Regions from separate parts of the Homo sapiens genome. Here regions 2, 3, 4, 5, 6 and 7 are each linked to region 1. The links are contacts of gene promoters, found by promoter capture Hi-C in blood cells and fetal thymus (Javierre and others, 2016). All regions are on one chromosome and are shown on one strand. Each heading gives the region's core, a stretch centred on a gene start or on the middle of the fragment in contact. The rest is flanking DNA. Distances are from core to core; before and after follow the strand shown.

Evidence for each region. The method cuts DNA at HindIII sites, captures the fragments that hold promoters and counts their contacts. A CHiCAGO score of 5 or more calls a contact.
Region 2: a contact is called between a fragment that was not itself captured here and the fragment with the promoter of UNC13B in region 1, in 2 of 17 cell types (endothelial precursors and erythroblasts). The highest score is 6.1, in endothelial precursors.
Region 3: a fragment that was not itself captured here is called in contact with the fragment with the promoter of UNC13B in region 1 in 3 of 17 cell types (monocytes, endothelial precursors and megakaryocytes); the score reaches 7.2 in monocytes.
Region 4: a fragment that was not itself captured here is called in contact with the fragment with the promoter of UNC13B in region 1 in 1 of 17 cell types (M2 macrophages); the score reaches 7.4 in M2 macrophages.
Region 5: a contact is called between the fragment with the promoter of RUSC2 here and the fragment with the promoter of UNC13B in region 1, in 2 of 17 cell types (megakaryocytes and endothelial precursors). The highest score is 5.5, in megakaryocytes.
Region 6: a contact is called between a fragment that was not itself captured here and the fragment with the promoter of UNC13B in region 1, in 3 of 17 cell types (M2 macrophages, M0 macrophages and M1 macrophages). The highest score is 6.7, in M2 macrophages.
Region 7: a fragment that was not itself captured here is called in contact with the fragment with the promoter of UNC13B in region 1 in 1 of 17 cell types (M2 macrophages); the score reaches 5.4 in M2 macrophages.

What each region holds. Positions count from the first base shown.
Region 1 is chr9:35,159,991-35,163,957 of GRCh38, forward strand. It overlaps UNC13B (unc-13 homolog B), which reads left to right and starts at 2,019. Exons shown (of 40, transcript NM_001371189.2): 1 at 2,019-2,315. The coding sequence starts at 2,294. RefSeq lists a silencer at 1,885-2,014. The HindIII fragment of the contact is 6,795 bases long and covers 1-3,093 here.
Region 2 is chr9:35,602,667-35,606,633 of GRCh38, forward strand. TESK1 (testis associated actin remodelling kinase 1) reads left to right here and starts at 2,596. Exons shown (of 10, transcript NM_006285.3): 1 at 2,596-3,172; 2 at 3,318-3,439; 3 at 3,571-3,619. The coding sequence starts at 2,954. RefSeq lists an enhancer at 1,832-1,941 and silencers at 2,422-2,671, 2,702-3,001, 3,022-3,191, 3,126-3,420, 3,202-3,461. The HindIII fragment of the contact is 1,139 bases long and covers 1,251-2,389 here.
Region 3 is chr9:35,552,793-35,556,759 of GRCh38, forward strand. It overlaps RUSC2 (RUN and SH3 domain containing 2), which reads left to right. Exons shown (of 12, transcript NM_014806.5): 3 at 2,268-2,909; 4 at 3,160-3,345; 5 at 3,516-3,656. Among named protein-coding and RNA genes, the nearest start is that of CIMIP2B, 9.1 kb to the right of the region's middle. The HindIII fragment of the contact is 1,113 bases long and covers 1,697-2,809 here.
Region 4 is chr9:35,532,234-35,536,200 of GRCh38, forward strand. The region is part of intron 1 of RUSC2 (RUN and SH3 domain containing 2); the gene reads left to right. Among named protein-coding and RNA genes, the nearest start is that of CIMIP2B, 30 kb to the right of the region's middle. The HindIII fragment of the contact is 1,185 bases long and covers 1,700-2,884 here.
Region 5 is chr9:35,488,300-35,492,266 of GRCh38, forward strand. It overlaps RUSC2 (RUN and SH3 domain containing 2), which reads left to right and starts at 1,812. Exons shown (of 12, transcript NM_014806.5): 1 at 1,812-1,873. It overlaps LOC105376026 (a long non-coding RNA gene), which reads right to left and starts at 3,328. Exons shown (of 2, transcript XR_929580.4): 1 at 3,132-3,328; 2 at 2,820-2,957. RefSeq lists a silencer at 1,481-1,780. The HindIII fragment of the contact is 5,552 bases long and covers 1,022-3,967 here.
Region 6 is chr9:35,451,027-35,454,993 of GRCh38, forward strand. It overlaps the pseudogene ATP8B5P and the pseudogene ZFAND6P1. Among named protein-coding and RNA genes, the nearest start is that of RUSC2, 37 kb to the right of the region's middle. The HindIII fragment of the contact is 224 bases long and covers 1,558-1,781 here.
Region 7 is chr9:35,433,122-35,437,088 of GRCh38, forward strand. It overlaps the pseudogene ATP8B5P. Among named protein-coding and RNA genes, the nearest start is that of RUSC2, 55 kb to the right of the region's middle. The HindIII fragment of the contact is 3,873 bases long and covers 392-3,967 here.

The DNA.
Region 1 (3,967 bases), core at 769-3,268:
GTTCTAAATTCTTTTTTTTTTTTTGAGATAGAGTCTTGCCCTGTCACCCAGGCTGGAGTGCAATGGCACGATCTCAGCTCACTGCAACCTCCGCCTCCCAGGTTCAAGTGATTCTCCTGCCTCTGCCTCCTGAGTAGCTGGGATTACAGGCACGTGCCACCATGCCTGGCTAACTTTTTTTGTATCTTTAGTCGAGACAGGGTTTCATCATGTTGGCGAGGCTGAGTCTCGAACTCCTGACCTCGTGATCCGCCCACCTCGGCCTCCCAAAGTGCTGGGATTACAGGCGTGAACCATGGCGCCCGGCCTAAATTCTTTAAAGAGGTTCAAGTCATTAGAAGCCTTCTCTCGATTTTTTGGTAATGCAGATGGCAAAGGGTGAAGGAGGTATAGGGTGGAAGAAAAGTAAACAAAAGAACAATTGAATTTTTTTTTTTTTTTTTTTTAATTTGAGACAGAGTCTCACACTGTAGCTCAGGCTGGAGTGCAATGGCTCGATCTCCACTCACTGCAACCTGCGCCTCCTGGTTCAAGCAATTCTCCTGCCTCAGCCTCCCGAGTAGCTGGGATTACAGGCACCCGCCACCATGCCCGGCTAATTTTTTTTGTATTTTCAGTAGAGACAGGGTTTCACTATGTTGGCCAGGCTGGCCTTGAACTCCTGACCTCGTGATCCGCCCGCCTCGGCCTCCCAAAGTGCTAGGATTACAGGTGTGAGCCACCGCGCCCGGCCTAAGAACAGTTTAATTTTTAAGACCAGGAAGCAAACACAGAAACCAAATACATGGTTTTTTGTTTTCTGTTTGTTTTTTCTTTTGCAGCTGTGAGGAATTTTACTCAAATTAGATAGGCCTTGTTACCCATAATTTGGAATTCTCACTTGGATTTGACCAAGTGAAGTAGAGTTGGTCAATGGGAAAAAGACAAACAAAATAAAAAAAAACCCAACAATATGATCACTGAGCACTCTAATGGTAAGCAGAAATTAAGACCAGCTGGTTGTTAACTTTAGCCAAGACAAAAATCCCTATTCAGCTACTTACCTAGGGGTGCGTCTCAGGCTGAAAACGGCTGTCTACCATCCCAGAAGTAGGAAAAAAACCCCTCATCTTCCCTGTTGGAAGTGAGCTCAAACTCCATAAAAGAGTTACCTGCCTTCCCTCGTCATGGAAGCAGGAAAACTTGCCTTCCTTGTTGGAAGCAAGTAAAACTCCAAAATAATAATAATAATAATAATAATAATAATAATAATAGAGGGAGTTGTACAACAAAATGAACTTTAGATCTCGACCAAATTTTGGGAGATCAGGGATTCTCTGGAGGGGGTGCTCCTAGACCTTAGCAAATTGTCCTGTTGGTTTGAGCCATGGAGTTAGCTCATGTTGGTACCAAGCATGGATAGGAGATTTGTCAAAGATCAGAGGTATCTCCACTCACAATCCCTCCGTGGTTACCATCCTTCATTCAGTAAATATTTACGGACTGATTACCATACACTAGGCACTATTCCAGACATTGGAGATACAATGATGAGCATAAAAAACGGTCTAGATAAGAACTGAGGTCTCCAGACATACTTTATGCCCACTCAGTTTTGTCTTTTGCCCTAGTTGCTAAACAAAACTTAACTTTGCTGTGCGGTGCGACTTCGTTAACTTAAAATTACAGGCTGTCAGCTATGACCGCTAGACTCTAAGAAAGTCCAGTGGAAATCCTTCAATGAAAAGAATCTGTTCTTGGGTGGAAGCCCCGCTCATGCAGGAGGAACAGAGGGCTTCCATTCTCGCGTCACACAACTGAGGGTCAACCCCTTGCTCCCTGCAGTAAGCCTGATTAGTGGGCGGAGCTTCCTTCAGGATCGCAAGAAAGAAAGGAGGAAGGGGACCCCGCCTCCTACGTGCTCGCGGGGGGGGGCGGGGTCGGTGGACTGGGCGTGAGTTAATTGGCTGGGGGGCGGGGCACCACGGGTTGGCTCCGCCCAGGCGCTCGCGCGGATCCCGGGTGGAATGACGGGAGGGAGTCCCGGCAGCTCCTACCTCCCAGCGATGGCGTCGCTGTGCCGCGCCCAGTCCCCAGCCTGCCGGCCGGTACTCACCGCTACCCGGAGTTCGCTCAGACGGTGAGATTTGGGGCGGGTCCGAGGCAGCGGCGGGACGCTACCTGCGACCGGGACCATGAGGAGCTGCCAGACCCGTGGGGCCGGTAACGAGAGCAGTCGCGGCACCTGCTGAGAGGAAAGAGGGAGCGGTCCGGCGCGGCTGGGGCGCGGCAGAGGCTTGCCCGATCCTCGGCCATGTCACTGCTCTGCGTGCGCGGTGAGTGCGCGGACTGAGGCGGGGAGGCGGGGTGTCGGCGTAGAGGTCCCCGCACCCTTCCAGTGGACGTCCGGTGACCGTCTCACCCAAACTTTACATCCCGTCCGTGCTTTGGGGGTCTATTATTTTGGCAATCACTTAACAATCACTTGAGTTCTTTCCACTTTCTTGTTTTCCCCCAAGCTCCTGCAAGGGACGATTAGCTCTCCATTCTGGTAGCCATGTGACAATGTTGTTGGACTGCAGGCTCAGATCCTATTAAACAGTGACTGGGGTTCTCTAGTGAGAGTGGACGAGTTAGAAGACCGCGGATGGTTGGTGCCTGTGAATGGTGGGCAGCCTCTCATTCTTTTCCTCCTCCTCGCACCGTAACGCTACAGTATGCTTAGTAGCAGGTTCTTTTTATCACACTTTGAATGCGTTAGTGGTACAGCTGTCACATCCCTTCTATTGCTTGTCTTGTCCCCTGCCACTTCCCTGAACACTAACCGGTAGTATAGGCTAAGATTATTCTTCTGTTCCACTTGGGAGGATGTGGTGACTGCTTTTGAGGATAAGAGGTATGATTTATTTTTATTTTTATTTTAGCTTGCCTCACAGTAACTCAAGGTGAAGGGCCATTATTGCTTTTCCCCTGAGGACACTTGACCCATCTAAGAAGATATCTTAAAGCAAGAGCTTTGGGGTTTAAGATGAGGCATGGTACGCGAACTAAGTTCTATGTGGGTAGAGACTGTTTCTTATTAGTTTTTGTATTCCTGGTGTCTGACGTAGTAGAAGCTTAATGCTGGTTTTGAATGAATGCAAGTACTGTGACTTCAGAGAGATTATCTGATCAGGAAAACACAGGGTTTGGATTAGCCATTGAATTTGATCTCGGGAAATTCAGGTTACAGCCTATCATATCTGATGTGTCTTGATTATGAATGAGAGAGCATTTATCAACTAGAGCCTTTACCTGATATCTTTTACTGGAGAGTTCATATTTCTTTTGGCTCTACAGATTAGAAGCATTGTTGTTGTTTGTGATTTCTCCAATAACGATGTTTCCCCCAGCTACTGGCAGATGAAACTGCTTTGCTCTGTTCTCTTCCACTATTTTGTTGAATCTGCATTAACCAAAATGGATTTGGCCATTTCCCGGGATTATGAGATATACAGTTTTTCTTCTTTCATGGTTGATTTTTCATTAATGAGAATTTTGCTTTGCTTTTAGTAAGACATTTTCTCTCAGCAGCTGGGAATCTATTTATTCCTTTAGATCCCTGCTGCTGAGTAGCAGGATTTGGGAGAGGTTGGACTTTGCTGTGTCTCTTGGACAGTTTAATTCTCTACGGCCACACTGTATTACAGAGCTGGTCCTTATGAAAGACTCTTTAGGCAGGAGCACTCGTGAATCAGAAATTCCTATTTAACTGAATTTATATAACTACTGGTGTTTTCATTTGTTTTAATAGCAGGCAGGTTTCATTGTCTAGAAATTCTGCTATTTAGCTAACTTCTTTCCTTTTTAATGTTACTTTAGTGAAGTTTCTTCTTTTTTGAATCTGGAGAAACGAGATCAGCAGGCCATTGTCTTTTTGAATAGAGATCTAGAAGATTTTAAATACTGAAACAAACAGGTACCTTATATGCAGATATTCATATTGAAT
Region 2 (3,967 bases), core at 570-3,069, 440 kb after region 1:
TTTTTTTTGGTGTGACAATACTGTGATTTGGTTTTAAAGAAGAATCCTTATCATTTAGAGATAACGTACTGAAACATTTACAGGATGAAATGATATGTCAGAAATATACACAAATATGGAGTGGGGAAGAGGGCACGGGTATAGATGAAACAAGATTGGCCATGAATTGCTCATTGGAGAATCACTGACATAGAAGGGTAAATGAAAGTAGGTACTTTCACCTGGGCCAGGTCAAATATGGCAACAGTACAACTGAGGCAAAGGAAAGCCAATTTTGCACTATGGGTTTCCAACAAAATGGTCTTACTAATCCAAGGTAAATAAACATTCATTTTTCTATTCTGTGTGTGTGTGTTAAGACATTTTCCACCATACAAACAACAACAAAAGGTTTTTTTGAGACAGAGTCCCGCTCTTGTCGCCTAGACAGGAGTGTAATGGCGCGATCTTGGCTCACTGCAACCTCCGCCTCCCGGGTTCAAGCGATTCACCTGCCTCAGATTCCAGAGTAGCTGGAATTACAGGCGCTCGCCACATCAGGCTAATTTTTTTGTATTTTTAGTAGAGACGGGGTTTCACTACGTTGGCCAGGCTGGTCTCATCCTTTCCTGATTGAACCACAGTCACAGCCTCCTTCCTAATCAGTCTCCCGGCCTCCATACAACCACCGCAATCATCTTACAAAAAATAGGCACCTGGCTCTTTGGCTTGGCATTACCATCACCAACTACTACAGTAATTCTCAAACGTGATAAAGGGCCAGAACCCAGTGTCGGTTAAAAGATCTATGATATTAAACAAAATGAGGCATAAATTCCTAGTGTTTACAGATGTCATACAATAAAAAGCAAATTCACAAATTAGTTGTAGATGTTAACATTAATGTGATGAATGAGCGTGTGCTGAAGACCAAACGCCTCCAGAAAAAAGAACAGGATGCACGTGCCCCGTGCAATTCTGTGAGGTTGGCCTGCCTCCACCGGCTGTGGAAGGATTGCGAATGTCTCCCATTCCTCTCGCTCCAAACTTGTGCAATACCTTCCCTTGTACAGCGCACCAAGACAGCATCTGGCCTTCTCTTGACTCTAAGGCATCATGTATCATTTATGACCGTCTTTATTCTTTTCTCAGTAGCCCTCGACAAGCGAGTAGTATTTCTTGGCTCCAAGTCTCATAAACGTGTAACCAGACTCCATTGGAAGACGGTAACCCCACGCGATACGGACTGTGCTTGTATTAATTCTCTTTTAAGCTTACTACAGAAATATCAATACAGTACTTGAGAATTCCTGCAGGACTCAGCCTCGCTTCCTCGAGGAGCTCTCAGCCTGCCTCCGCACTCGAGACGGCAGCTTTCTCTCCCTCCGCCCACCGTTCCGCCGCTAGGTGGCAGGCGGCTCAACGACGCCCTTTTAAACCGTTTGCCCCGGAGTGGACCGCCGGGATCGCGTGTCACCACCCAACCCTAGCGATGATTGGCTATTTCGCCGAGGCCGGAGGAGGAACCAGCGGCAGAACCGGAAGCGTCTGGTACGGCGAGTGCACGGAGTCCTGAGACTGCGTGCGCACCCAGGCACCGCGCCGACTTAAAGAGGCCAGTTGCAGCCCCTCCTCCGGCCTTAGGGGGCAGACCGTGTTCCTACGTGGAGGGCGGAACCCTCACACTGAGGAGGGCTGGGTCACACTGAGGGGAGGAGTCACCTTGAGAGGAGGGGTCACAATGACTAGTGGATTTCCTCGGAGGTGGGGTCTCACTGCGTGGGAGGAACACAGAGCAAGGGGGTGCAGCACTGAGGGGTTCTGACACACTGACGGTGGCAGTGCCACACTGGGGAAAAGTGCCCCCGAAAGGGAGGTGTCTCACTGAGGAAGGGAGGGGTCTCCGAGGGACAGCGTTCTTTGAGGGGGGTGGGATCTTGCGGAAGGACGGGCTTCCCTGCAGGTGGAGGCTTCTCTCTTAGAGTCTTTTGGGCAAAGTAGTAAGAGGGAGGTCCCGGCTGGGTGGTCACAGGGCGGAGGACCTGGACTCTCTTCTTTATTGGGAGGCGGCAGGATGAAGTGAGGAGGAGTCGGGGCTAAGCTGGGTATGGGCCGGCCAAAGGCTTCCTATAGCCCCGGGGTATCACAACCTCCCGTGAAGGTAGAAGGTGTTAGGGAGGCCAGAGGTTCAAGGTGTCGGAGTCGAAGAGACCTGGGAAATGGGCAGGCTGGGCCGGGGCGCAGGCCAGGAAGGTGGACAGGTTGCTAGGCTACCTCTGATTGCGGCTGGGCCTGAGGGGCCTACCTTTCTGCCCCGTTGGTCCCTGGAGCCCAGGAATCCGGCAGGTTTCTGAGCCCGACCCTCAACGGACAGTAACCCAGGGAGGAGAGGGGACTCCCTGGGCAGCTAAGCTTCGCATGCGCACCATCAGCCCTTAATTCCCTCCCGTTATTCAAGCTCAGGCCGGAGCTTATTTGACCCGGGCGGCCCAGGGCATCGCGGCCGGAAAGCGGGGAGGCGGGGGTGCGCACCTGAGGGGGCGTGGCCGCTGCCGGGAGGCCGGGCTGGAAGGAGTTAAGCGGAGGCCCGGCCCAGCCCCGCCCCCGGCAGGCCGCGGAGCCTGATCCCCGGCGGCTAAGCGGAGCAGCCGCCGCCCGCCCGCCCGCCCGCCTCCGCCCGCGGCAAGCCAGCCCGCCGGCGCCCCGGAGCGCTGCCGCCACCGTCACCGCCACCGCCCGGTCCAGGCCCAAGCCCAGGCCCTGCGCGGAGCGGAGCGGCGCGGCGTCCACCCGGGCCCAGCCAGCCGGCGCGGCGGGGGCGGGTCCAGGATCTTCGGCGGATCTTCCATTCTCAGGGCGGGAGCCGGAGTCCGGGCGCCCGGGATCGGGCTGGGCCCGCGCCCATGGCAAGCGCGGCCTGCCCGGGCCCTGGGGACCCTGCCATGTGAGGCAGGCCCGGGCTGGGGGCCCGGCCATGGCCGGGGAACGGCCCCCACTGCGGGGCCCTGGGCCCGGGCCTGGAGAGGTGCCGGGGGAGGGGCCCCCGGGGCCGGGGGGCACGGGCGGAGGCCCGGGCCGGGGCCGCCCCTCCTCCTACCGGGCTCTCCGCAGCGCCGTGTCTAGCCTGGCGCGTGTGGACGATTTTCACTGCGCGGAGAAGATCGGGGCCGGCTTCTTCTCTGAGGTCTACAAGGTAGGACCGGCCGAGAGGGCAGAGGGGCGGGACCGAGCCTTCAACCAGAGGCTGAAACTAGGGGGCCGGGAGTGCGGGGAAGAGGGTCCAGACTCCGGCGACCCGCCCGACCTGCCCGGCCCTCGCCGGCTGCTCCTGCCCCCAGGTTCGGCACCGACAGTCAGGGCAAGTCATGGTGCTGAAGATGAACAAGCTCCCCAGTAACCGGGGCAACACACTACGGGAAGTGCAGCTGATGAACCGGCTCAGGCACCCCAACATCCTAAGGTGAGCGGCCCCAGTCTCTGGGCAGCTTGCTGGGCGGGAGAGAAAGGGAAAGATCCCGCGGGAAAAGTGGAACTGAGGAGGAGCTGAGGCCTTTAATAGCCTATCCTTCTATCTTCCCCATCCTCTTGCAGGTTCATGGGAGTCTGTGTGCACCAGGGACAGCTGCACGCTCTTACAGAGGTGAGGATAGGCCAGGAAGGAGGGATCCCCACCCCCCTTCACCCCCAAGGATAAAGGGAGTCAACAGGCCTGGTGGATCTACGGAGGACTAGTGAGAGGCAACAGGATCTCCTCTCAGGGGAGGCTTTCCTGAACTTTCCTTTAGGCAAACCACATATAAAAGGCCTCAACTGGTCTTATTCTCTGTATCCCCTAGAACAGTGCTGTCCAATAGAATTTTCTTCAGTGACGGAAATGTTCTCTATCTGTGCTGTCCAATACAGTAGCCACTAGCCACATGTGGTTAAATTTAAATTATTTTCATTGTTTAGATTATTTTTTGTGGGTCAACTTGATTAAAAAATTTTT
Region 3 (3,967 bases), core at 1,003-3,502, 390 kb after region 1:
AATGAATGTCACATAGAAAAGTGAGAAAACTTATTCTGTGTATTCCCTGAGGGTAGAACTAAGACCCATTCCCCACAGGGGCCCCCTTCTTACCTGATCTTATTCCTCTGCCTCAGTCTGTATCCTGGGAACTTAGCAGAGAGGAGTTTTAAAAGGGTAGGAATAAGCAGTCTAATTCAGACATACTTTGTATAGGGGGTATAATAATGCTGTGGTTGGGATGACCTAATCCGATAGCCAGAGTCAGCTCAGCCTTGAAAACTGATACTTAAATAGGCGGAAAGGAAGGACACATTCCTGATGGGAAAAGCAGTGGGCTTCATGACAGGGATGGACTGGGAAGAGTAGGGTCAGTGGGGGCAGGTGTGGAAGTCTGAAGGGAGAGCAGCCTAGCTCGTAGCAGGTGTGGGCAACTAGCTCACTGAGAAGATTAGACTTTATTCTGGGAGATAAAATTTGTATCTCAGAAGCTAGTTGGTGTATGTAAGAAGCTTCTGGTTGTAGTGAGACTGGCTTGAATCAAGAGTGACCGTGGAGATTCCCTCATTTAACAGATGGTTTTTCACTCCATACTGTGTGCCAGCCTCTGTTCCAGGCATTATGGATCCAGCAGTGAACAATATAAAATCCCCACTTTTCTGGAGCTCTTAGGAGCAGTAATGGACAATAAACACATTAAAAGGACAACTTTTAATTGCTGGAAAGTTCAACAATGCTGAAAAGAAAATGAAACAGGGTAATGGGATAGAGAGCAACTTGCCAGAGGGGCTGACGTAGTCAGAGAAGGTCTTATTGAGGGGGTGATATTTGAGCTGATGCCTGAATGGTGAGAAGATTCAGACAGAAAGAAAAGCAGGTGCAAAAGGCCCGGAGATGTTCATGCATCTGGTGTGTTTAAGGACGGGGAAGTGTGGCTGGAGCACAGTGGGCCAGGGAGAATGCAGAGTCTGTGTAAGCAGTGACTGGGTATAGCAGGAGGGTGGAGCTTGAAAGTGTCCCCTGGGAGTGATTCAGAAGCACCTCCCTAATGGGATTGTGGTCCCCATCCCCTCTGACTCTTTGATGTAAATAAGATGAGGGATAGGAAAACCTGGCCTGATACAATTTCACATGTAGTACAATGTGGTAAAAAGAACAGTGGCTCTGAAATCAGACTCTGGGTTAGGCAGAATTCTAGCTCTGCCACTTCCTAGTTGTTTGACCTTGAGCAAGTGCTTTAATCTGTCTACATTTCACATTTCCTAATATGTCAAGTAAGAGAACTAATTCCCGCCTCGCAGAGCTACTGAGCCCCACTGCTGGTGAGCTTTCACCAGGGCTTTAGGCCGGGTGCGTGCTTATAGCGCCATCTTACGTTTATTCGGAGATCTACAGTGTTTTGTTGGAAGTGCAGTCCATCCACTGTCCCACTCCAGTGTCCTGGAGTTTTGTGTTTAGTTCTGAGCACCACGTTTTGAAGGACATTGACCTGAAGACTGCCTGAAAGAACAGGAGAGGCCCAGCCTTGGGGAACATACCTCCGTTCAGGGGGAGCAAATGTGGACTCTGAGGTTCCAATGCCAGGATCGTGAAAAGAGTGGGAGTGGGGGTAGATACAGATAACAGGTAGGCTGCAAGTAAAGAAATATCTTACTATGGTTCGATATGCTCAGGAATGAAATGTGCTGGCATGATTGGAGATGGGATAATGAGCAAAAGCTTGAAGTCAGTAACATCTGAAACATTTTCATCACTGAAAATGTGTGTGACTGTGACTCCAAGACTTAGAAACAAAGAAAATGGTTCTGCCATTGATAGAAATGGAAGTCATCGGAAAAAAGGAGAAAGGTGATGGATAAGCGGTTATAGCACATTTTAAGTGAAAGCAGAACTATAAAGCAGAATGATCTGGAGATGAAGAGGAAGGTCCAGGCTAAAGCTGTGGGTTTGGGAGTCATCCCGTAGAAGTCTGAACTCAAAACTTCTCAAGAAATAAAGTGTAAGGTGAGATGCAAGAGTTGAGCCTTAAGATACACTCACCTTTGGAGTCAAGAAAATGAAGAGGGACTGAACAGCAGAGAGGTACAAGACAGTCCAGCACCATAAAAGCAATAGGAAGCGTTTTACAAAAGAGGGGAGCAGTGTCCCATTCCACGAACTTCTACCCCATTCAATTCCTGCCAGCCAGGTCCCTGCCCCTCTCCCCTCTCCCATCTCTGCTTCTGGGTTTTCTCTCATATGGGTTTCAGTGTCTGTCTACTGATTTCTTCTCCATCCCTTTGCTACAGGGGGTGGCACCGAGAGCCGACCAGTCCTTCGCTACAGCAAGGAACAGAGGCCAACCACACTGCCCATCCAGCCCTTCGTGTTCCAGCACCACTTCCCCAAGCAGCTGGCCAAGGCCCGGGCCCTCCACAGCCTTTCCCAGCTCTACAGCCTCTCAGGCTGCAGCCGTACACAGCAGCCTGCCCCACTGGCTGCCCCTGCTGCTCAAGTCTCAGTCCCAGCTCCCTCAGGGGAACCGCAGGCATCCACTCCCCGAGCCACTGGCAGAGGTGCCAGGAAAGCTGGGTCTGAGCCAGAGACCTCTCGGCCATCGCCCCTGGGCAGCTACTCCCCCATCCGGAGTGTTGGCCCCTTTGGGCCCAGCACTGACTCTTCTGCCTCCACTTCGTGCTCCCCTCCCCCAGAGCAGCCCACAGCCACAGAAAGCCTGCCCCCATGGAGCCACTCCTGTCCTTCTGCTGTCCGGCCTGCCACCTCCCAGCAGCCGCAGAAGGAGGATCAGAAGATACTGACCTTGACTGAGTACCGGCTCCATGGAACAGGAAGCTTGCCGCCTCTGGGCTCCTGGCGATCTGGCCTCAGCCGAGCAGAGAGCCTGGCCCGGGGAGGTGGTGAGGGCAGCATGGCCACCAGGCCCAGTAATGGTACGAGCTCCAGCATCTCCCTACCCAACCCGCCACCTCACGCAAGCACTTCCACCACCTCCCCTTTGAGTGGTTGCTTACACTCTCACCTGGGGCCAGAGGTTAGGATGTCTGCATCCCTCCCTCAGCATCTGTAGATAATATCCACAGATAATCTAGTGTTTCATATGGGCCCACTGGGTGGATGTGAAACTCTGTCTCGCTGTCTCCTGCCAACTCTTGTCTTTCTGCTAATCTGTTCTGCTTCCAGCCAACCACCTATCCCCTCAAGCCCTCAAGTGGCGGGAATACAGGAGGAAGAACCCACTAGGGCCACCTGGTTTGTCAGGGAGCCTAGACCGAAGATCACAAGAAGCTCGGCTGGCCCGAAGAAACCCTATCTTTGAGTTCCCTGGCTCCCTCAGTGCTGCCAGCCATCTGAACTGCCGGCTGAATGGTGTGTGAGCAGGGTCCCCAGTACACCCGGGGCAGGCTCTGCCATGGCTGGAAAGGGCTAGAGAAGGGGTCAGTCCCAAAGGAACGTGTCTCAGACGGTACGAGGCACTGAACTGGCCTGGAACTCCTGCACTGAGAGTTGCTCAGGATTGATTTTTCTCTTCTTTCCAGGCCAAGCAGTGAAGCCGTTACCACTGACCTGCCCTGACTTCCAGGACCCCTTTTCCTTGACGGAGAAGCCTCCAGCTGAGTTTTGTCTGTCCCCAGATGGCAGCTCAGAGGCCATTTCCATTGACCTGCTTCAGAAAAAAGGTGCATACAACCCCCAGCTCAGGCCAGGGACTCTGCTGTCACTACCTCCTCACACTTGCCCTACTACCTAGCCAGTCTGAAACCTCTAAGTGCTGGCTGGGCCCAGTGGCTCACGCCTGTAATCCCAGCACTTTGGGAGGCCAAGGCAGGTGGATCATGAGGTCAGGAGTTCGAGGCCAGCCTGGCCAACATGGTGAAACCCCATCTCTACTAAAAACACAAAAAAAAATTAGCTGGGTGTTGTGGTGGGCGCGTGTAATCCCAGCTACTCGGGAGGCTGAGGCAGGAGAATTACTTGAACCCAGGAGGTG
Region 4 (3,967 bases), core at 1,042-3,541, 370 kb after region 1:
TAGGCTATTGGAGATTTGATTCTGGAAGTTCAGGAAGAATGTAAGATTTGGAAATCAACGGCAAAGGTAATGGGAAGTACTAAAGACTGTTCAGATTGAAAAGTCTTCAGATCTGAACCTTGCTGTAAATTTGCATTTAAATATGGGCCAGGTATTGTTTTATTAAACAACGAAGAAAGAATTATCTAAGAAGTAGAACTAGGAGGATTGGTTTATAGAAGACAAAAGGGGTTGGGTTTGATGGCACATGCCTATAATCTCAGCACTTTGCAAGGCCGAGGTGGGCAGATCACTTGAGCTCAGGAGTTCAAGACCAGCCTGGCCAACATGGTGAAACCCCATCTCTACCAAAACCACAAAAATATAGCTGGGTGTGGTGGCATGCACCTGTAATCCCAGCTACTTGGGAGGCTGAGGAACGAGAATCACTTTAACCTGGGAGGTGGAGGTTACAGTGAGCCAAGATCAGCCACTGCATTCCAGCCTGGGTGACAGAGCGAAACTGTCTTAAATGTCTCAAAAAAAAAAGCCAAAGGGAAAAGAGGAGTTGAATAGGAAAGGATGACTGCTGATAGTGTTGGATGATTCCAATATTATAAGTTAAAAATGATAACTGCTTCACACACTTCAAATGTTATTAGAAAAAAGATTTCTGGTGGTTAAGAAACAATGAAGGAGAGAGTGGAGAGAGAATTTTAAGAGTCCATTTGTTAAGGAATTTTGGTGTCGAGGCTGGGTGTGGTGGCTCACGCCTGTAATCCTAGCACTTTGGGAGGCCTAGGCGAGCAGATCACTTAAGCTCAGGAGTTCGAGACCAGCCTGGGCAACATGGCGAAACCCCATCTCTACTAAAAAATACAAAAATTAGCCAAGCATAGTGGCGCATGCCTGTAATCCCAGCTACTCGAGAGGCTGAGGCACGAGAATCGCTTGAACCCAGGAGGCGGAGGTTGCAGTGAGCCGAGATCGTGCCACTGCACTCCAGCCTGGGTGACAGAGCGAGACTCTGTCTCAAAAAAAAAAAAAAGAAGAATTTGGTGTTGAAAAAAGAAAGAGAGGACTATCTGACGTCCTTGGATTGACATGCAGTGATAGCCTCTGCTTTCTGGTACCCTGATATTCCACCTCTCACCCATACCCCCAGTTATGGGGTTCTCAAAGACTTCAGTCTCTGTGGAGCTGAGCAACACCACTCAAGCTCCTACAGCAACTGCCACTGTTTTTAACAGCTTTATTGAAATATAATTGACATACCATACATTTTGCCATTTAAAGTATACAATTCAATTGTTTTAGTATATTCACAGTTGTGCAACTATGACTGTAGTCTAATTTTGGAACATTTCATCATTCCCAAAAGAAACCCCACACCCATTAGCAGGCACTCCCCATCTCTCTGCCTCTCCAGCCTCTGGCAGCCACTGATCTACTTTTTGTCTCTATAGATTTGCCTTGTCTGGACATATCATGTAAATGGAATGAAACAATATGTGACCTTCTGTGTTTCTTCTTTCACCTAGCATGTTTTCAAGGTTCATCCATGTTGGAGCATTTATCAGGACTTCATTCCCTTTTATTGCTCAATAATAATTCATTGTGTGTACCACCTTTTATTTATCCCTTCTTCTGTTGATGAACATTTTGGTTGCTCCTAGTTTTTGACTATCATGAATAATGCTACTAGGAATACTCATATACAAGCTTCTGTGTGGATGTTTTTTGTTTCTCGTAGGTATATACCTAGAAGCAGAATTGCTGGGGTCAAATAGTAACTCTTTAACTTTTTGAGAAACTGCCAGAACTCTTTTCCAAAGTGGTTGCACCATTTTACAGTGCCCTCAGCAATGTGTGAGGGTTCCAATTTCTACACATCATTGTCAACATGTGTGATTGCCTGCCTTTTTTTATTTTAGCCATTCTAGTGGGGTCAAGTAGTATCTCACTTTAGTTTTGATTTGTACTGCCTAATGATTAATGATGTTAAGCATTTGTTTATATAAGTACTTGTTGACCATTTGTGTGTCTTCTTTGGGGAAATGTTTATTCAAATCCTTTGCCCAGCCAGGCATGGTGGCTCATGCCTGTAATCCCAGCACTTTGGGAAGCCGAAGCAGGAGGATCACTTGAGCTCAGGAGTTTTGGACCAGCCTGGGCAACAGAGTGAGACCCCCATCTCTACAAATAATACACACACACACACACACACACACACACACACACACACAATCCTTTGCTCGTTTTTATTTATTTACTTATTTATTTTTTTGAGACAGGTTCTCACTCTGTCACCCAGGCTGGAGTGCAGGGGTGCGATCTCAGCTCACTGCAACCTCTGCCTCCCAGGTTCAAGCACCTCTTGTGCCTTAGCCTCCCGAGTAGCTGGGATTACAGGTGTGCACCATCACACCCAGCTAATTTTTGTATTTTTTTGGTAGAGACAGGTTTTGCCATGTTGGCCAGGCTGGTCTCGAACTCCTGACCTGAAGTGATCTGCCTGCCTTGGCCTCCCAAAGCTCTGGGATTACAGGTGTGAGCCACCATGCCTGGCCCCCTTTGCCCATTTAAAAATTGGATTGTCTTTTTATTACTGAGTTGTAAGTGTTTTTAAATATATTCTGGATAGAAATCCCTTATCAGATATATGATCTGCAAATTTTCTCACATTCTGTGGGTTTTCTTTTGACTATCTTGATTGTGTCCTTTGAAGAACAAAAGTTTTAAATTTTTATGAAGTCAGTTTATGTTTTTTTTTTTATTTTTTCATTTTGCCAGCAGGAAGTCAAAGTTTTTCTGTTTTTTTCTTTTGTCACTTGTATTTTTGATATCATGTCTAAGAATGTGTTGCCTAACCCTAGGTTATGAAGAATTACTTCTTTGTTGCCTAAGCTTCTTTTTTTTAGATATGGAGTGTCACTCCTGTTGCTCAGTCTGGAGTGCAATGGTGCAATCTCGGCTCACTGAAACCTCCACCTCCTGAGTTCAAGTGATTCTCCTGCCTCAGCCTCCCGAATAGCTGGGGTTACAGGTGCCCACCACCACACCCCGCTAATTTTTGTATTTTTAGTAGAGACAAGGTTTCACCATGTTGGCCAGGCTGGTCTTGAACTCCTGACCTCAGGTGATCTGCCCGCTTCGGCCCCCCAAAGTGCTAGGATTACAGGCATTAGCCACCGCTCCCGGCCGCCTAAGCTTCTTTTTGATAGATTTTTTTTTTTTTCACATGGAAAACAGTCTTCTCTTTCAAGCCTATTGAGTCAAGTCTACCCACCACTTATTCTGATTTACACACAAGGAGCTTCTCTTTTTTTTTTTTTTTTTTTTGAGACGGAGTCTCTTGCTCTGTAGCCCAGGCTGGAGTGCAGTGGCGCCATCTTGGCTCACTGCAAGCTCTGCCTCCTGGGTTCACGCCATTCTCCTGCCTCAGCTTGCTGAGTAGCTGGGACTCCAGGCGTCCACCACCACGCCCGGCTAATTTTTTTTGTATTTTTAGTAGAGACGGAGTTTCACTGTGTTAGCCAGGATGGTCTCAATCTCCTGACCTCGTGATCTGCCCGCCTCGGCCTCTCAAAGTGCTGGGATTACAGGCATGAGCCACCGTGCCCGGCCAAGCATCTCTTTTTAGATTATTCTTGTTCAACAAGACTTCCATATGCCAAGCATAAGACACCTTCTATATGCCAAGCAGTATGCTAGGTTTTATGGGAAATACAAAATTAAAATGATATTCTTATATACTGGATAATGGAGATGTACAGATGACTATAACTCCGACTTTGCAGTCTAGAAGAGATGTTAAGGCAGATATGCAAAAAAGAACAATAACCATGTTAAGTGACATGATTTACTTAATCAAAACTTCTCAGGGACCGATGCTATTGCTGATGAAGTTTGCCATCAATATGCAATGCAATGAGAAAGTACAGTATGCTTTTTCTTATAAAATGATGATCATCAAAGTAAAGTTTTT
Region 5 (3,967 bases), core at 562-3,061, 330 kb after region 1:
ACATGTGTGGACCATCAGGAAATGGCCTCTCCCTGGCCCAGCCGAATTATCCTTTTTAAAGAAGCAATGAGGTAATTATGGAACTGTCACTGGTAGAGGGTCTGACTGCAAGTTGTCCAGGTTCTTGGCGTTTTGAACAAAGAATTGGACAAAACGCCCAGCAAAGCAAAGAAAGAATGAAGGAACAAAAGAAGGAAAGCAGGGATGTATTGAAAACGAAAGCACACTCCACAGTGTGGGAGCAGCCGGAGCAGCGGCTCAAGGGCCAGGAAACAGAATCTTCTTGGGTCCAAATACCCCCTAGAAGTTACCCGCCACTTCATGCTCACCTCATGTAAATGAATTCGTAGCCTGCAATCAGTCTGATTGGTTGCAGAAAGCAGCCAAGCAGAGGCTGAAGTGAAGTTACAAAGGTCGCACACCTGTGCAAACATCTGATTGGTTGCAAGAAGCAACCAATCAGAGGCTAGGGTGAAGTTACAAAGTTATACTTCTATGCAAAGTTAGACTCGGCTGCAGTCAGTCTAATTGGTTGCAGATAGCCAATTTCCCATCTGCTGGGCAGAAAAGTTGGGTGGGGGGTTTGTTACTTAGGTGTGGAAAGTTAGGGTTTTCCTTTCAATTTAGTTCCAGGAAGTTGGCATGAACCAGTCTTAGGTTCCCTGCCTCCAGTCCCTATTCTCCTGCCTCAGAACCATCACCCAACATCCCTAGTGGGTAGCAGGGGAGAACCCTCTCCTGCCCCGCTCATGCCTAACTACCTGTAACAGTTTGGCTGTGTCCCCACCCAAAATCTCATCTTGAATTGTAATTCCCATAATCCCCCTGTGTCAAGGGCGGGAACAGGTGGAGGTAATTGGATGATGGGGCTGGTTTCCCCTGCGCCCTTCTCGTGACAGTGAGTGAGTCCCACAAGATCTGATGATTTTATAAGCGTCTGGCATTTCCCTTGCCTGCACTCACTCTGTCCTGCCACCCTGCGAAAAGGATGGCTACTTCTTTGCCTTTTGCCATGATTATAAGCTTCCTGAGGCCTCGCCAACAATGCGGAACTGTGAGTCAGACCTCTTTCCTTCATAGTATTTCTTCATAGCAGTGTCAGAACGGACTAATACAGTGGGTTTCCCATAACATTTGCAGGACTGCCTGCCCCATCCCCCTCTGGCTGTAAACAGCAGGAGTCACACACAGGCATCTTCCATGTCCCCCACACATCCGGCCCTGAAGGGCAGGGGGCGCATGGGTTCTACGTTTCATCAGGGGTTCCGAACCCTGGCTATGCACTGGAGGCCAACCCCACCTCACCCCACCCCACTCCACCCCAGTGGTTCTGAGTCGGTCCAGTGTGAGGTCAGCCCTCCTTCTGTTGTTTGGTTAGTTTCCACACTAGGTTCTACTGGGAAGCCAGCGTTGAGAACCGCCGCCTCAGGCGAAGCTGGGACTCACACCCACCGGCCCTGGAGGCCCGCGGAAGGTTTCCCTGGGTTCCAGCACCCGGGAGCCGCGCGTCGCCAGGCACCACCCCGCGGGGGCGGGCGCGGGCCGCAGAAGATTGGGCCACGGCGGAAGCCTCTCCGCTCCCTTAGCGGGAAAGCTCTGCGCGTGACTCGGCTGCGCCCATCGCTGCGGGAGCCGGGGAGGGGGCGAGCACCTTAGGCCGGGCGGACCGAACCAACGCGCCGCCCGGAGGGGCGGCCTGAGGGCAACCCAGATCGGACCATCGCGCCACGCCGACAGGGGCCGGCCTTTCCAACCCGCCCGGAGGGAGGGGCCGCCGGCGCCTCTAGCCTGCAACGCGACCCCTGGAGGGCGAGACACGCCGCCGCCGCCGCCGCCGCCGGCGCGGAAGGACGAGGCTGAGGCGAGAAACGAGGTAGGAACGCCTCTCCGGAGGCGGGCAGGGTCCCACAGACCCACTGCCCCGCGTTCCAAGGTCTCCCTTAGGGGAGGGCCTGTCTTCCCACCTATGTGCCTTCAGCGCCTGCCCTTCCCTTCAGCCCTTCCCCCTCGGCTGCACCCGCCCTCTGCGTCCGCCCCGACCCCCTGGGCAGACCTCGTCCCCAGCCCTTCTGACCCTTGGCCTTCTCCTGACCCTTCAGCTCTGCGTCCACCGGACCTTCAAACACCCAGCACCCACCGTCCCTTTGGGCGCCACCCCAGATGCATCCCCAACCGTCTCCTCAAACTGCCCCCTTGGGGACACCCTCCCCCCACAAAACGACTCGCGCCCAGTAGTCACCTTGGTACCCCAAGTCCCTGTGACGGCTTTGGGGAAGCGTGGCCGCCCGGCACCCAGGCCGGCGACTGCAGCGGGGGCCTCCCTACTGCCAGTTCCCGGCCGGGTCCTCTGCTCCCTCCACCCTTTTAGCCCCTGCCTCCCTTTATTATCCGCCCGGCGCCGGCGTTGCTTCAGTCTCTGTCTCTCTGTCATCCAGTTTTACCTGGAGAAAACCTTTGGCTTGGCAGTAACCGTCCCCTACTACTGCACTCACTTGCCGCGAAGGGCACGGTGATCCTGTTGCCCACAGTTGGCTGTGGCCCTCCAGGCCGGCCCTGCGGACACGGGGAACTGTCCTGGGGGCAAGGACGGTACACTACTCATCTTTGTATCCCCGGTCCCCAGCACGGTGCCTGGCACATGGTAGTGTTGCTGGTGGAGGGTCTTCACTACCAGTTGTCCTTTGCGTTTTGAACAAGTAATTGAGCAGCGGAGGAATGAAACGCAGGAACAAGTAGATCTGAGTCAGGCAAGGATTACCACTATGTGAACAGTGTCCGTGATAAAGAACACAGGCCTTAAAAAAAAAAAAAAGGCGGAATTTACAAAGGACAAAGGGCCTGAAACCTGTTTTTATTTATTCCTAGGTGGGTGACCTGAGCAGATTTAGTTTCCTGGGGGTTTGGGTTCCACGCGGAAGCAGGTGGTATCGCTGAGGGATGAAACAATGGCTGGAAAGCTGTAGGAGTTGATAAGGTAGAAAGTAGTTACCTAATTAGTAGTGGCATTATTGTAACTGGGGCTCAAAGTATTAGCAAATAAAAGTAGTGACTGGATTTTCTTAGCCGGCTCCTTAGATATTAAGCAGTGGTGGATGGCTTAATGGAAGGAAGAGCAGATCCAAACAGTATACCTGGTATTCTGTTAGTTATGCCCGTCCTGCTGTATGGCCAGCCACTGTTTCTCTTCTGTTTTGAGCCAGGTTAGGATCCCTCTGATTTCTGTGCTGGTATTTAAGATTCCTTTTTGAAGCCACAGTTGCCTTAACTGGAGGCTGGACATGTTCTCATTCATCCATTGCTAGTTTTGATGTATCCTTTTCCGCTTTCTGTCTCCCACCCTCTTACATGTCTTTATAAAGTCTTGGATCAGGCCAGGCACAGTGGCTCAGCCTGTAATCCCGGCACTTTGGGAGGCCCAGGTGGGCGGATCACTAGAGGTCAGAAGTTCAAGATCAGCCTGGCCAACATGGTGAAACCCCATCTCTACTAAAAATACAAAAATTACCGGGCATGGTGGTGTGCACATGTAGTCCCAGCAACTCAGGAGGCTGAAGTCCCAGCAACTCAGGAGGCTGAGGCAGGAGAACCCCTTGAACCTGGGAGGCAGATGTTGCAGTGAGCTGAGATCATGCCACTGCACTCCAGCCTGGGTGACAGAGCAATGCTCTGTCTCAAAATAAAGCCTTGGATCATAGAAACCCAGTGTGGGGAGGGGCTCCTGATCTGGATGGATTAAGCAATACAATTTTTTTTTAACAGTATCTTTTTAATGGCCTTTTCTACTTTTTCCTGTCTAGGCTTCCTGTTAAGACCTCAGTTACCCCAGAACACCCTGGGTTATTTTTCTCCTCACCTCCAATACTTCAGTGTTGCCAGATAAAACGCAGAGTGCCCAGTTAAATTTGAATTTCAAATAAACAACAGGGAGTCCTGTATTTTTACTTGCTAAATCTGGCAAGTTCATGGG
Region 6 (3,967 bases), core at 420-2,919, 290 kb after region 1:
GATATGAAGAATGATCTGAAGTAATTGTGCTGTATTTATGTTTATTCACCAGTCTTTGATTAAATAAAAAGGAAAACCAGAAAAAAAAAGTCTCAAGCAGTCTTAGGATCCCAGAGATTAAGATCTGAGGCAGAAAAGAACAGACAAATTACAAGAGAGTCTAGCTTACGCCTGTTAGGAAGAATAGTCACAAAGTGTTTAAAAAGATATCATGCTTTGATTAGTGGTACAAGAATGGATCAAGGACCCAGTTTAGAAATTAAGACATATTTTTATTTTCTCATAATCAGTTTTACTCATGACCACTTTAATAAAACCTTACTTAGACTAATAGAACACCTTGTTTGAACTGATGATTTTCAAACTCTTTTCTTAGAGGAGTCTTAAGGTCTGGTGCAGTGGGAATAGGGAAGATCAAGTGGATTTTATTCTATCCTCCTCATTTTGAAGTTCTTGCTTTAAAAAGAACAGCTTCATGTTTATCTATTTTATGAAATTTCAGTTGTAAAAATAGAAGGGGGTTCTATTAAGAAGTGAAATTTGAAAAGCACTGCAATATATAATAATCAGCTTTGATAATAGATGTTTAAATTGAAGACTAGTTAATAAATTATTTCTATGCTGTCTGATATAAGCTGCCTTTATTCTTATTAGTTATAGACAGATTAATTTCCTCTCTTAAACAGCTTCTTTGCATAGCTGAGCAGTTCCTGTAATGCCTACACTTGATCTCATAACTTTTCATGTTTATTTTTACTCTATTATTTAGACTCTGAAAACTCAAAAAAAAACCTTTTCTTTGTACACTCTTATCATTAATATCTGAATTATAAACTGCCTTTTTTCTTTATTATGGGAAACATCCCAGATCCTTTTCAAAATCCTTTGGATCTAGCAAAAGGGGTTTTAGAAAATTAGGAAGGTTCATTCAGCTCAGAATCTAGTATTCGTTCATTATACTTCTCTTTCTATTATGGAGTAAGTAGTTTTCAGCAGTTGATCAAAGTTCCATTTCCTAGTTTCTTAATGAAGAAGACAATCATGGTCAAGAATTAAGGAAGGTAACATGGGCAAATATGCTTTTGACAACATTAGCAACATACATCATTAGACAGTAAGCTAGGTCATTTAGCCTAGGCTTGTCTTCAAAACAGGATGTCTTCAAATGGGTGTGATGGCACACACCTGTAATCCCAGCAGGTTGGGAGGCCGAGGCAGGAGGATTGTTCAAGCCTGGAAGTTTGAGAGCAGCCTGGGAAACAGTGAGACCCCATCTCTATAAAAAACAACAACGAAACACAAAAACACAGGTGGAACAAGATGGCTGAATAGAAGTCTTTATTAATCACCCCCCCCACACACACTCCCACAAAAACACCAAATTTAACAACTATCCACATATAAAAGTACCTTCATAAGAAACAAAAATGAGTCGAACAATCACAATACCTGGTTTTAACATCATATCACCAAAAGAAGCATTGAAGACAATCTTGAATTGCTGATGCCACCATTCCCCCATCTCCTGGTGGCCATGCATGGTGCAGAGAACTTGTAAGCTTTGGGGAGGGAGAGCACAGCAATTGTGGAACCCTGCATTGAACTCAGTGCTGTTCTGTCATAGTGGAAAGCAAAACCAAGCTGAACTCTGCTGACACCCACCCATAGAGGGAGCATTTAGACCAACCCTAGCCAGAAGGGAATCGCCCATCCCAGCAGTCAGAACTTCAGTTTCGTCAAGCCTCACCACCTTGGGCTAAAGTGCTCTGGGGTCCTAAACAAGCTTGAAAGCAGTCTAGGCCACAAAGACTGCCATTCCTAGGCAAGCCCTAGTGCTGTACTGAGCTCAGAGCCAGTGGACATAGGGGGTCGGGGTGGGTGCACACAACCTAGTGAAACACCAGCCAGAGCAGAGAAGGGAGTGCTAATGCTACCCCTCCCACAACCCCAGGCAGCACAGCTTGCAGTAACAAAAGTGACTCCTTTCTTCTGCATGAGGAGATGGAAGAGTAAAGAGGCCTTTGTCTTGCAAATTGGAGACCAGGTCAGCCACAGTACCATAGGGCAGTGGACAGAGTCACGAGGCCCCCATTCTAGGCCCTAGCTCCCAGACAGCATATCTAGATACACCCTGGACCAGAAGGAAACCTGCTGCCTTCAAAGGAAGGACCCAGTCCTGGCAGGTTCATCACCTGCTGACTAAAGAGCCCTTGGGCCCTAAAGAACCAGCAACGATACCCAGGTAGTACATTGTGAGCCTTAGGTGAGACTGTAGAGTGGCAGCATCTAGACGTGCTGGCTTCAGGTGAGACCCAGCACATTCCCAGCCGTGGTGGCTATGGTGAGAGACTTCTGTTTGAGAAAAACAGAGGGAAAGGTAAAAAGGACTTTGTCTTACAGCTTAGGTACCAACTCAGCCACAGTGGGGTAGAACATCACGTGGGTCCTTGGTGCCCCTGATTCCAGCCTTGGCTCTTGGATGGCATTTCTGGACCTGCCTTGAGCCAGATGGGAGCCCACTTCCCTGAAGGGTGAGTCCCATGACTGACAGTATTCAACACAAGCTGATTAAGCCCTTGGGCCTTAAGTGAACATTGGTGGTAGCCTGGCAGTACCCTCTATAGGTCTTTGATGGTGGCCATGGGCACTGGCTCCTTTGCCTGTGGAAATGGGAGGGAAGAGTGGGAAGGACTTTGTCTTATGGTTTAAGGGTCAGCTCAGCCATAGTAGAATACAGTACCAGGTAGACTTCTAAGGTTTTTGACTTCAGTCCCTGGCTCCCAGGCTGCATCTCCGGACACCCCAGGGGCTGAGGAAATTTGCTGCACTAAAGGAAAGGACATAAGCCTGGCTGGCTTCACCATCTGCTGATTGTGGAACCCTGGGGCTTGAAGTGAACATAGGCAGTTGCCAGGTAGTGGTCACAGCGGGCCTTGGATGAGACCCAGTGCTGTGCTGACTTCAGGTGTGACTCAGCACAGTCCCAGTGGTGGTAGCCTCAGAGTTGCTTGTGTCACCCCACACACAGCTCTAGGTGGCTTGGCACAGAGATAGACTAAATCTGTTAGGGAGAAAGGAAAGAGAACAAGAGTTTCTGCCTGGTAATCCAGAGAATTCTTCCAGATTTATTCAAGACCACCAAGGTGATACTTCTATGAGTCTGCAAGAACTGCAGCATTATTGGGCTCTGGGTGCCCTCTAATGCAGATATGGCTTAGATCACAACACCCAAGTCCTTTCACATACCTGTAAAGCCTTCCCAAGAAAGATAGGTAAAAAGAAGCCCAGGCTGCAAAGACTATACAAACAATTAATAACTAACTCTTCAATGCCCAGACACCAACAAACATCCATAAGCATCAAGACCATTCAGGAAAACATGACCTCACCAAACAAACTAAATAAGGCACCAGGGACCAATCATGGAGAAACTGAGATATGTCACCTTTCAGACAGATAATTCAAAATAGCTGTTTTGAAGAAACGCAAAGAAATTCAAGATAACAGGAAGGAATTCAGAATTATATCACATAAATTTAACAAAGAGGCTGAAATAGTTAAAAAGAATTAAACAGAAATTCTAGAGTTGAAAAATATAATTGACATATTGAAGAATGCATCAGAGTATTTTAATAGCAGAATTGATCAAGCAGAAGAAAGAATTAGTGAGCTTGAAGACAGGCTATTTGAAGATACCCAGAGAAGACAAAAGAAAAAAAAATGAAGCATTCATACAAGGTCTAGAAAATAACCTTAAAAGGGCAAATCTGGCCAGGTGCAGTGGCTCACGCTTGTAATCCCAGCACTTTGGGAGGCCGAAGTGGGCAGATCACGAGGTCAAGAGCTCGAGCCCATCCTGGCTAACATGGTGAAACCCCGTCTCTACTAAAAATACAAAAAATTAGCTGGGCTTGGTGGCGGGTGCCTGTAGTACCAGCTATTTGGGAGGCTGAGGCAGGAGAATGGC
Region 7 (3,967 bases), core at 1,078-3,577, 270 kb after region 1:
AAACACCTCTGTTTTGATGTGATGATTTTGTCAAGTAGTTATCAGGCTTACTCCTACTATACTAAAGTCCTTGAAGTCAGAGACTGTCTTACTCATCGTTTTATCCCTCCACGGCATCCAGTACACTGGCCTCTGTGCAATAGATGCTCAGTCATTGTTTATTAATTTAAATTTAGTTAAGCAAGTTTAGGACAAGTTGGCTTAGAAAAGAGTCTCAGATATATTAAGACAAAGTGCTAAAATTGACTTATGAGGGAAGGCTGGGTTTCTGTGTTTGTCAGTAAAATTGGTGCAGACCATCTTGTTGTCTGTGGAGACATGATCTAGGAAGTACTAGAAGCATTGATGGTGGAGAACTCCTCAGGAGTTACTTGTCCTGTTGCCTCCAGAAAGCTTGAATACTTGAGCATTTTTATTTTTATTATATTTCTTGATTCTTTTGATTAAAGAGACAAAATCCCATGCTTAAATAGACATCTTCAGCAAGAAAGTGTGGGGATCTAGTGAAGTCTTCACTAGCAGCCAACATCCCAGTCTGATATACACAGGGGCATCCATCTCATCGTTTATCCTATCTTTTTTCAGAACATGAGAGATATCTGCAAGCCAACAACAAAGAATTCAACAGTATTTTTGGATATCCGGTGAGTGTCATCCCTCTGGCTGTTTCAGAAGGGGGTCAGTATTCTCCTATAATATTCTTCTTTGTTGGGGGAGCGTGAAATTCTTTGTAGTTGTGGATCCTATAACACAGATTCTATTACACTTTCTTTCAAGCTCCTATACAATGCAATGAAGGCTCAGAAGCCAAAATTAATCTAGTGACATAAGCTAGGGAGAGAATGTCTTAGATTTCAGGTTTATATATAACTCCCAGAAAATAAATACTGTAGTTTTTCTTGCACAAATGAAAGCATAGTTCTACTTTTTTCACTTAGACATGTATCTGACAACACATACAGATATCCCTCATTTATTTAATAGCGACATTGTTTTCCATTATATTGATAAACCTGAATTTATTTAGTCAGTCTTCTATTGATGAACATTTAAATGTCTCCAGTGTTTTGCTATGCTAAATGGTGCTGAATGAACACCACTATACATATATTTTGGCACATTTGTGTGACTGTATCTTATGAAAGTTTCCTAAAAGTAAATTGTCTGTTTCAAAAGAAAAACACACTAAAAATTAAAAATTATCAGAGGCCAGATTGCCCCCCAAAAGAATTATATCCATTTATGTTTCTACTTAGAGACTGCCCGTTTCTCCACATTCCTGTCAAACTCATTATTATCAATCTTTGTCATCTTTGCCAGCTCTTAGATGAAAATGACATACATGTTAATTAGCCTTTTGTATTTCTTTTTCTGGAAAATACCTATTAATGATCTTTGCCCACTTCCTATTGAATTGTTCATTTTTCACTTATTTATGTGTCTATAACTAAGTAATTCATGAAAAGATATATATTGAAAAGGCATGCTCCAATACTCCATCCTTGTCCATATCTGCTCCCCTGAGGGAACCACTGTTAGTTTTCTTGTGTGTATTAATCAGATTAGTGTTTCTTTGTGCAAATAAAGCAAATACAAATATATAGTCTTATTTTCCTATTTTTACACTATTCTGAACCTTAACAGTATATCCTGGAGATGTTTTCATCATCATAATTTCATAATAGTTTTTTTCTTTTTTTTCCTTTTTCAGCTATAATATATAGTATTTCCTCTGCAGATTTAACATATTTTATTTAACCAGTTCCTTTTAAATGGACATTTGGGTTGTTTTCAATCTTCTATGATCACAAGCAATGGTTTTATACATAATATAATTCCATGCATGTGTAGCATAATATAATTCCATGCATGTGTAGCTATGTATACATATACATAGCTATAATTATATAAAAATATATGTCTGCGGTCTCTGTGGGATATTAGTTTATGATTTCTGAGTGAGAGTGGTATATTAGTCCAATCTCACACTGCTATAAATAACTACCTGAGACTGGGTAATTTATGAAGAAAAGAGGTTTAATTGACTCACAGTTCCTCAGGCATAACTGGAAGCATGACTGGGACGCCGCAGGAAACTTACAATCCTGGCAGAAGGCAAAGGGGAAGCAAGCACCTTTTTCACGTGGTGGCAGGAAAGAGAGAGAGAGTGAGGAGGATCCTATACTTTTAAATCATCAGATCTTGTGAGAACACAAGAATAGCATGAGGGAAAGCCGCCTCCATGATTCAGTCACCTCCTACCAGGTCCCTCCCCAACACTGGGAGTTACAATTCAACATGGTATTTGGGTGGGGGACACAGAGCCAAACCATATCAAATAGTTCTGGATAATAATAGTATCCAAGATATGACCATGAAAGCAGGTTTTTCTCTTCTCTATCTTCTAGACCTACGTAACAAGCAGTGGGGACAGTAAATCTAGGTTTGGGCATCAGACAGATCTGAGTTTGAATATAGCTCAGCCTTTACTAACCTTAATGTCTTAGGCAAGTTTGTTAACTTCTCTGATCTTCAGTTCTTTCATCTGTAAAATGGGCATAATAATGTTCACCTTGCATGGTGGTCGTAGGAGTTAAGTATGGTTCTGAAAATGTTAGTTCTGTTTCTCCAAAAAACTATTAGCCCTTGGAAAAAGGGTATCTCATTTATCTCTGTATACACAGTATATTTGTGATACAGTTTCTATCACAATGTTGTGCACACAGCCAACATTCAATAAATATATATTGAATATTGAATGAGTGAATGAACAGATCTGACTGATTCTGATATATTTAACACCATTTCATTTCCCTGGCCCTGAGCATTGCTCATTTTCCTATTTCTCTAACTTCTTCCACTGTGACTCCTTGTCATCTTCCTAACTCCTAACTACTGATTCTCATTATATCCTTGGCCTTTTATTCTCTTCTATTTTCCCAATTAACCTTCAGTCCCATATCACTGCCCAAAGAAAAAAATAACCAAACCAAAATTAACCACCTCTTATCATGTTTAAATTTTATCACCTCTGCCAAAAGGACTAAACTCTGAGGAACTTCATAGTTAAGGAGATGTTATTAGGATATTGCTTCTGGTTTTACATTTAAGAGCAAAATGAAACGCTCTAGTTGCCAAGTTAATAAATAAATACCTGTACTTCTATCTTGAGGCAGAATGCTACCTACGTGAGTAGAAACCTGAAATATATTAAATGGCTATAAAATCAAATGGAAAATCAACAGTGAAGGCTAGCTACATCAGTAAGGCCACCTCTCAGAAGATCTTTGGGTCCAAGTATCACAGCCATCTGGACTTAAACACTGAGAAATTCAAAGTATCTTATGATCAAAGAAAGCTATTTCCATGTTAGAATTACATACTCTCATGATGAGAAGGGCCTGTAGAGATCATTTTACTAGAACTTCGTTCAAGACAGACCATGAGCTTCTCCAGAAGGGATCCTGTCTAATTATTTTTCAGCCTCCACTAGTATAGTCCAGCATAAGGCTGTGAAAAGAGCAAGCCTTGAGAAATGCTATACTGTCTGATTGATTATTATTTGGAAAATCATGGAGAGAACACCAAGGAAATCTTAGTTTTGGCTTGGATCTCTAAACTCCTAAGTGCTAAGCTATTTGACCAGCTTCTCATCCCTAAGGAAATAGGTAGGTTCTTCTTTTAAAAAAAACAAAACAAACAAACTTGTATTTAAGTTCAGGGGCACATGTGCAGGATGTGCAGGTTTGTTACATAGGTAAGCCTGTGTCATGGGGATTTTTTGTACAGATTATTTAATCACCCAGGTATTAAGCCTAGTATCCATTAGTTATTTTTATTCTTTTGTTCTGTCCTTTTAAATGGAAGAGGTAGGAGATGAGCCCTGAACTTAGGGAATTATTTGGTCTTATTCTCCTGCTTTTAGAGCTCTTAGATTTGAGCTCTGACATCTTAGGACAAATGATTT